Regions from separate parts of the Homo sapiens genome. Here region 1 is linked to region 2. Evidence: promoter capture Hi-C in 16 types of primary human blood cells and fetal thymus (Javierre and others, 2016). All regions are on one chromosome and are shown on one strand. The core of a region is centred on a gene start or on the middle of the fragment in contact, and the rest is flanking DNA. Distances in the headings are between cores, read along the strand shown.

What was found. The method cuts DNA at HindIII sites, captures the fragments that hold promoters and counts their contacts. A CHiCAGO score of 5 or more calls a contact.
Region 1: a fragment that was not itself captured here is called in contact with the fragment with the promoter of TSC22D1 in region 2 in 1 of 17 cell types (non-activated CD4 T cells); the score reaches 5.6 in non-activated CD4 T cells.

The regions. Positions count from the first base shown.
Region 1 is chr13:46,791,660-46,794,962 of GRCh38, forward strand. It overlaps ESD (esterase D), which reads right to left. Exons shown (of 10, transcript NM_001984.2): 2 at 1,738-1,785. Among named protein-coding and RNA genes, the nearest start is that of ESD, 3.8 kb to the right of the region's middle. The HindIII fragment of the contact is 537 bases long and covers 1,467-2,003 here.
Region 2 is chr13:44,574,269-44,577,796 of GRCh38, forward strand. It overlaps TSC22D1 (TSC22 domain family member 1), which reads right to left and starts at 2,062. Exons shown (of 3, transcript NM_183422.4): 1 at 1-2,062. The coding sequence starts at 1,806. TSC22D1-AS1 (TSC22D1 antisense RNA 1) reads left to right here and starts at 1,628. Exons shown (of 3, transcript NR_038381.1): 1 at 1,628-2,002; 2 at 2,774-2,909. RefSeq lists an enhancer at 1,535-1,774 and silencers at 2,095-2,804, 2,815-3,054, 3,325-3,524. The HindIII fragment of the contact is 6,017 bases long and covers 1-3,528 here.

The sequences.
Region 1 (3,303 bases), core at 485-2,984, 2.2 Mb after region 2:
TAACAAGTTTTTTCGTTGTGGTGGACTGCCCCAAATTATTTTTAAAAGAGGCAGAAAATACATAAGTTACCAATTAATTACCTTAGTTTAGAAGATTAAAAATTGTTAATAGTCTGCCTATCAACTGCAACAAAGTAGTCAAGGAATTGGTATGACTGATTATAGTTGATTTTAAAATGGAAGAAAGATGTGATAATGATTTTGGTAATAATAATATGTAACATTACTGAACACTTACGGTGTGATACACATTTTTCTAGACACTAAACCAGATCCAATTACTCATCCCATGAATTTTTAAGAGAAAGTGATATGAAACTTTAAGATCAACATTTATTTCTCCTTTTAAAACAAACCAATAAGTAAAACAAGCCTGTTAACTTCTTTTCTGTCCAACAAATCTTTTGTTTTCATGTAAAAATAATTTTAAACTTACATGTAAAATGACATATTTTATTGCTTTTAATGATAAATACAGGAAAAAAGTTGGAAAACTATCTTTATCATAAATGCCTATTAAGCAAAGGGAAACCACACTGATTCTGACATGTACCTCTCAAAGAAAGATTCCCTTTCTATTCCTAGAAACACTGTATTAGAATATAAGGCAGTAAGTCCTACATATTGAAGAAAAAGCTTTAGATATCAGGAACAGGTATTACCACCCTGGTGATCTTCTCAGAGAAATGCACTACTACATGCTAATCAGCTGGAGCTTTAGGATTACTCTTTCAAAGATGTATAACAATAATCTTAAAAAGCTAATTTTGGAAATGTCTTTATAAAATACTTTAAAAAATTAGTTTCAATCTTATCTCTAATTTCTTCAATAAACCCAAATAGTTTTATTTTGGAAGACTGGGATTTGAACCCAGAAGTCTGACATCAGAAGCCCTACTCTTAACTGCTATGCTGTCCTGACTCTCTAGAGGTTCTTTAAATACTCATTTTTTAAGACACTTTAAGATAACTGATTCTATAGAATTATGATATTACAACTGTACACAAAGAAATTACCATCTGCTCAGTTTTATGCTTTTAATCTATAAAAGATTAATTCTTAAACAATAAACTCCCATGAGATGTTATTAGTTACTGAATATTAACTTTAGCTACTGTTAACAATCCTATCTTAAATAATGAACTTATAGAGAGAGATACTAATTTTAATATATTAATACATATATATGAGACCAACAAATAAAATTTATTTGCTCCATTATTCCACAAGGAAACCAGATTTTCTTAAACTTAGAAAGGACTATATCCACTTTGCAAAAGATGGTACACTGAGCACGTATCTGGTACATAGGAGTCTGTATCTTTGCTATTCGTCTATTTTAATAAACCTCAAGTTGTCAGTTTTCTCTGCTCTTAAAATTCAAAATCAAATGCTTTTCATTTGGCCAGAAGAAACAAGATTAAAACACTTTTTAAAAGTTGGTAGAATATTTTTTAAAAAACAAAGCTTTTAAAGTATTTTTTCTACCCACCATTTTAGAAACTATCTTTAATTACAAATCAAAAAAATATGTTAGGCTTAACAAGAAATATGACATAAACTAAGAACTAGATATGACATACTGTGATATACTATGATATCTGATACATTATAATAGGTGGTTATATTTTTCAATAGAATTTTTCTATGTGAAAAATAGCACGTTTTAAAACAAGCTATTAGTGGTATTTTCATTCAATGTTCAGAGTAACATATAAACAATAAAACAAGTTTACCTGTCCAATTGCTGATTGCTTTTTGCTTGCACCAAATGGTAGGCGATTCTGAAAAAAACACCAATGGTTTACAAATGGGATATACTTTTCACAGCAAAGGTTATACAGAGCTTTTATATGCATATGCATTCTCAATAGAGATGTTTTCTTCTTTTGAGGTAAATGACTGTACACCCTGATGGGATACCACATCACCACTTAATTACCTTAATTGCCCATAATCTAATTATTTGCCACAGGCCACCTTAATACCTATTTTGCCATAAAGCTTGTTGGTACTTGGTCAAAACCATCTGCTGAAGTAAAAGTACTATGAAAGTTTTTTATCTTTTTAAATCAATAAACAAAGTTTTCAAGTGTAATTTCGAAGCATGAGATGTAGTCAACTCCTGAGTGAAGAAAATAAGAGTGGGGACTAGGTAAGTAGAGGAAGATGGATCTATCTGGCTCAGTTGTAAGTCGAACTTGTAACATGGGGAGAAAGAAGGGAAGAGATGAGGACTGAAGGACTACTACTAGGGTGACTAGAAAGGATGTATAAGAAAAGTGGGCTTATGAACGATGAAGTGACTGATATTCAGTAAGAAAAATATATATGGAAACTTACATAGTATATATCATGTCACTTATCTGGTAGATTTCATTTAGGCTCTAGAACAAATATATATTTAGGTTCTAGAACAGATTTTGTGGGAGAAATAGGGTGACAGAGTAGGGTGGAATACCAAAAAACCAAACAACACCCTTCCTCCTTCCCCTCCAAAAAACAACAACAACAACAACAACAACAAAAACAGAAAAACAATTTCACAGTGCCAGTGGGAGTTACACAATTTTTCCCAAATGTTAGTGAACATCAACATTCTTTGGAGAAGAAAGGGTCTCTCAGTGCATAATACATCCATTCCCCTAAAGGTCAAACCTTACTGTTCTTCCCTTTATTTTTTATTTTTTGGAGATGGGGTCTTGGCTGTGTGGCCCAGGTTGTAGTACAGTTGCATAATCATGACTCAGTGTAACCTAGAACTCCAAGCTTCAAGTGTTCTCCTACCTCAGCCTCCTGAGCAGCTAGGACTACAGGTGCGTACCACACTGGAATATTTTTTTTTTTAATTTTTTGTAGAGACAGGGCCCTTTACTTATTAAAGTTAAATGTCATCCACCTCCAGAAATCTGAGTTCTATTTTTATCCTTCTTCCCCTGTGTCTCAAGTTTTCCATAAATCTCTACATGTGTTTTTTTGTTCCCATTCTCTCAGATTCCTTGGATTTTGATGTTTCTTCATTTCCAGGATGTCCTATTCCACTGGCTCTTAACAACCTAGACAGGTGTTCCCAAAACCAACAATCTACAGTTCCAATAACTGCTGTTGACCACCACTGTGTTGTTCAAATCCTCTTCTCAGTGAAAACTCAGGATCTGGCTTCTTCCCTTTCACTCTGTCTCCTCCCACCTCCCTTTTCTTTTTTCTTCACACTCTTTCCCTAAACCTCATTCCCTAAATTTCAACTACATTTTCTGGGTGAAATAATCTAAATCTGCATCTCTATAACCAATCTTTCTCAA
Region 2 (3,528 bases), core at 812-3,311:
TTGAGCCAAACTGGAAATGGAAGGCTGCTGACCTAAAGCTGAAGTTACACCAACCACATTTACAGGCGATGGCTGGATACCAGTTGCAGCACTCATAGTGGCTTGCAGAGGTACTGGCTGAAGACCTTGCTTTTGCTGATAGCTCAGTTCTTGAGACTGTAATTGTACTTGTGAGATCTGTGACTGAGAAATACTCTGTGGTATACTAACTGCTGGAATACTCTGTGGACCAGTGCTACCAAAATCCATCTGTTGGAGGGTCACACCTTGGAGAGCTGGTTGTTGCTGTTGTTGTTGTTGTTGCTGCTGCTGCTGCTGCACCACCACAGTAGGGGCTCCCATCTCTCCACTTCCCACACTCTCTGTATAGTGACTCAGTGTGCTGACACTACTGCTCACTGAACTCCCACTAGTGCTCTCCCTTTCAGAAGTCACTTCTATCGGATTTTGCTTTACAGTCTCCACCACTTTATTTATCAGCACACCTTCTGTAGCAGGTACAGCATTTTCTTTTTCATAGAACTCAGTGCAAGTCCATCTACCTTTTTTAAAGGGCTCAGAACTAGAATCTAACTTCACAACTCTGAACCTCGAAGTGTTAACTGTTGGTTGTTGCTGCTGACTTGAAACCGATCCCCCAGTCATCCCTGCAGCTGCATTAGGAACACTGCTAACAGCAGCAGAGGAAGAAATAGTACCATTGCCCATGCCACTCAAGATATTCACATTAACACCACTGGTAACTCCAGGCCCAACACTCACACCAGCAGCACTAGGAATATTGCTTGTACTTATATTAACATTACCAAGCATGCTGCTTGTCACATTAGGATTAAAACTACCCACAGCAGTAATGTTAACATTATTTACTGTACTAGTGCCAGTAACAGAATTTATACCTATTCCACCTGTAGTACTTGGAGCACGCATATTAGTCATTACAGATGCAGGTGAACCACTGGATGATACAGCAGAAGTTGGTGCAACTGGTGTGATACTGTCAGAGCTTCCAGTTGTAGAGAGTTTTCTAGATACTGGGCTTGAGGGTGGCCCACCAGTAATGGATGCACTGGCCACAGCAACATGAGATGGATGGTGGTGACCATGTTGGAGGTGGTGCCCATGATGAATCTGATGGTGGTGATGGAGGTGGTGTGGATGAGCATTCCCATTGATCACAACATTCTGTTGTGGAAGGTGAGGCAAATGAGGCTGAGGAAGGTGGGGCTGGTTGGGAGAGACTGCCCCAGGTGTCTCGGCTTCCTGGAAGTTATTTAGGGTCTCTTCTGAGGAGCTGCGTTCGGGCTCCCCTAAGTCAGTAGCCCTGGAAAGTGACACATCAAGGATCTCCGAAGAAGAGAGATCTTCCGTGTGAGATTCATCCAGATCATCATAGCTCTCAGTGTCCTCTGCTATACTGTTGTTAGAGCTGATACTAGCGGAGATCTGAGCAGGAGTAACGCTAGTTATCTGGAAGCCACTTTTCTTTTTCATTTGAGTTCCGCCTGGCGCAAGAGGCTGTGCCTGCAGCTGAGCCTGCGAAAGGAGGTTCAGGCTTTGTGGAGGCGGAGGCTGTGGTCCCGACGTAGAAGATGCTGCAGGGGGCGGCGGCTGAAGCAGCGACGGAGGCGGAAAATCCTCGGAAGATGTGGCATTACTACCGACGCCGGTACCTGCTGCATTGAGAGCAGAGGCGCTGCCACTACCGCTGCCCCTTCGAGGGAACATTGCCGGGTGCGCCATCTTCCTAGCGCTAATGTCTGCAGCGGCGGCGGCCGCGGCGGTGGACTCAGGCGGCTGGTGCATTGTGTTGGGTACCGGGGGCGCGGAGGAGACGAGTGCAATTTCCTTCTGCACCGTAATCTTTGTATTGGAGACGCCGGAGAGGAAAACGGGACCTGACGCTCCGCCTGGCGCGATTCCTCCTTCTCCTCCTCCTCAGCCAAAGGCGCCGGTCGCTCCTGCCTTCGAGAGCGAGCTTCGGAAAGGAGGATGAACGAGGGTGAACAGGGCGGCCGGGGACCCGAAGGGGGGATCCCTTCAGTCCTTCGCCATTCACTTTCCCCTCTAGCCTCACACCCCCCTTTATATTCTGCTTCACGTGGGGTGCGGGGCAGGAGGGAGGGGGAGAGCGCAGGAAGGGGAGGAAAAGCGAGAAATGCCCACCTTCTCCGGCCAACTCCGAAGCCGCCTCAGCCCCCTCCTCCCGCCGCGTCGGCGGCCGCTGCAAAGCCCTCCCGGCCGCTCTGCACGGAGGCAGCGCCAAGCAAATGTCGCCTTCCCCTCGCCACCCCCGGGGCCGCCGCCGCCGCCAGCGAGCCCCGAGCTCAGTGTCGCTCAAACCTCCCCTCCCGGCCCCGCTCGGCCCTCCCCCCGCGCCCCGCAGACCCTTTCAAACCCCCTGGGCTCGCGGCGGCTGCTCGGTGAGGAAACGCTGGCCGCGGCTGGGGCCGGGGCGACGCGGCTGCGAGCGGGGCGGCGGCGAGGCGCCCGGTACGGTGAGCCCAGCAACGAGGCGCGGGCGGGCGCGCAGAGACGCCGGGTCCTCGCGGAGCACGGCCGGGGCGCGGCGGCGGCGGTGGCAGCGGGAGCCCAGGGACCGCTCCATCACTGGCAGCCATGGAGCCCGAGCATTTTCCTCCCTCAGGGCAGGCGCCTCGACTCGGCACACGTCCTCGGGGAGGAAGGGGCCGGCACCCGAGCCTCTCCGGAGGGCGGCGGGACGTGCGCTAGGGCGGAGGGTGCGACCCTCTCTTATCCTCTTCCTCCGCAGCCGGCTCTTCCTCACCCCGCTGCTCCCGCGACCGGGCGGGAGAGGGCCGCAGGCGGCGGCGGCTCCTTTCTCCGCGGCGTTGGTGGCCAGACGGGCTGGTGCAGCGACTGCAGCCGACGCCGTTCAAAGGAACGAGGTGGGGTTGGTCGGTGTCGGCAAACGGGGCGGGGGAGTGAGTGGGTGCCGAGGGAGGGTGTCGGGCGGGGAGGGGGCTGTGGTGGTTGTTACTAGTGCTCTTCTTCGGCTCCCCCGGCTCCACCGTATCCCCCAGTCTCTCGCGGCATCGGGAGGGGAGGGACCAGCGCGGAGCGCAGGAGGAGGAGGGGCGACCGCCGGCGAGAGGAGGCGGTGGTGGCTGGGGGGAGGGGGCAGGCGGAGGAGGAGGAGGGAAGATGGCGTCTGCGCATGCGCCTCGGCGCCGCAGACATAAAGCCGGGTCTGGCGGGGCAGGAGGCGGCGGGTCTTCGGGCCTAGGCGAGCGCCAGGTCTCCCGACGGAAATTACCGAAGGCTGGCAGAGGCGCCGAAGCCGGGAGTGGTGGAGCCGGAGGGGATAGTGGGGGTGGGGAATTCCGGCCGAAGGAGCGAATCCGGGTCGGACTGCGTGATTCGGCCCGGTGGGGGCGGGCAGGGTGCGCGCCTGCCGCGCGCCCAGGTTAGGTGTGTCCGCTCTTTTCACACTCGCGGCCGGCGCGCGCGGGCACGCGGCAGAGGAGGGGGCGCGGCGCGGAAGGGCCGGCGGAGGCGGCGGGAGCG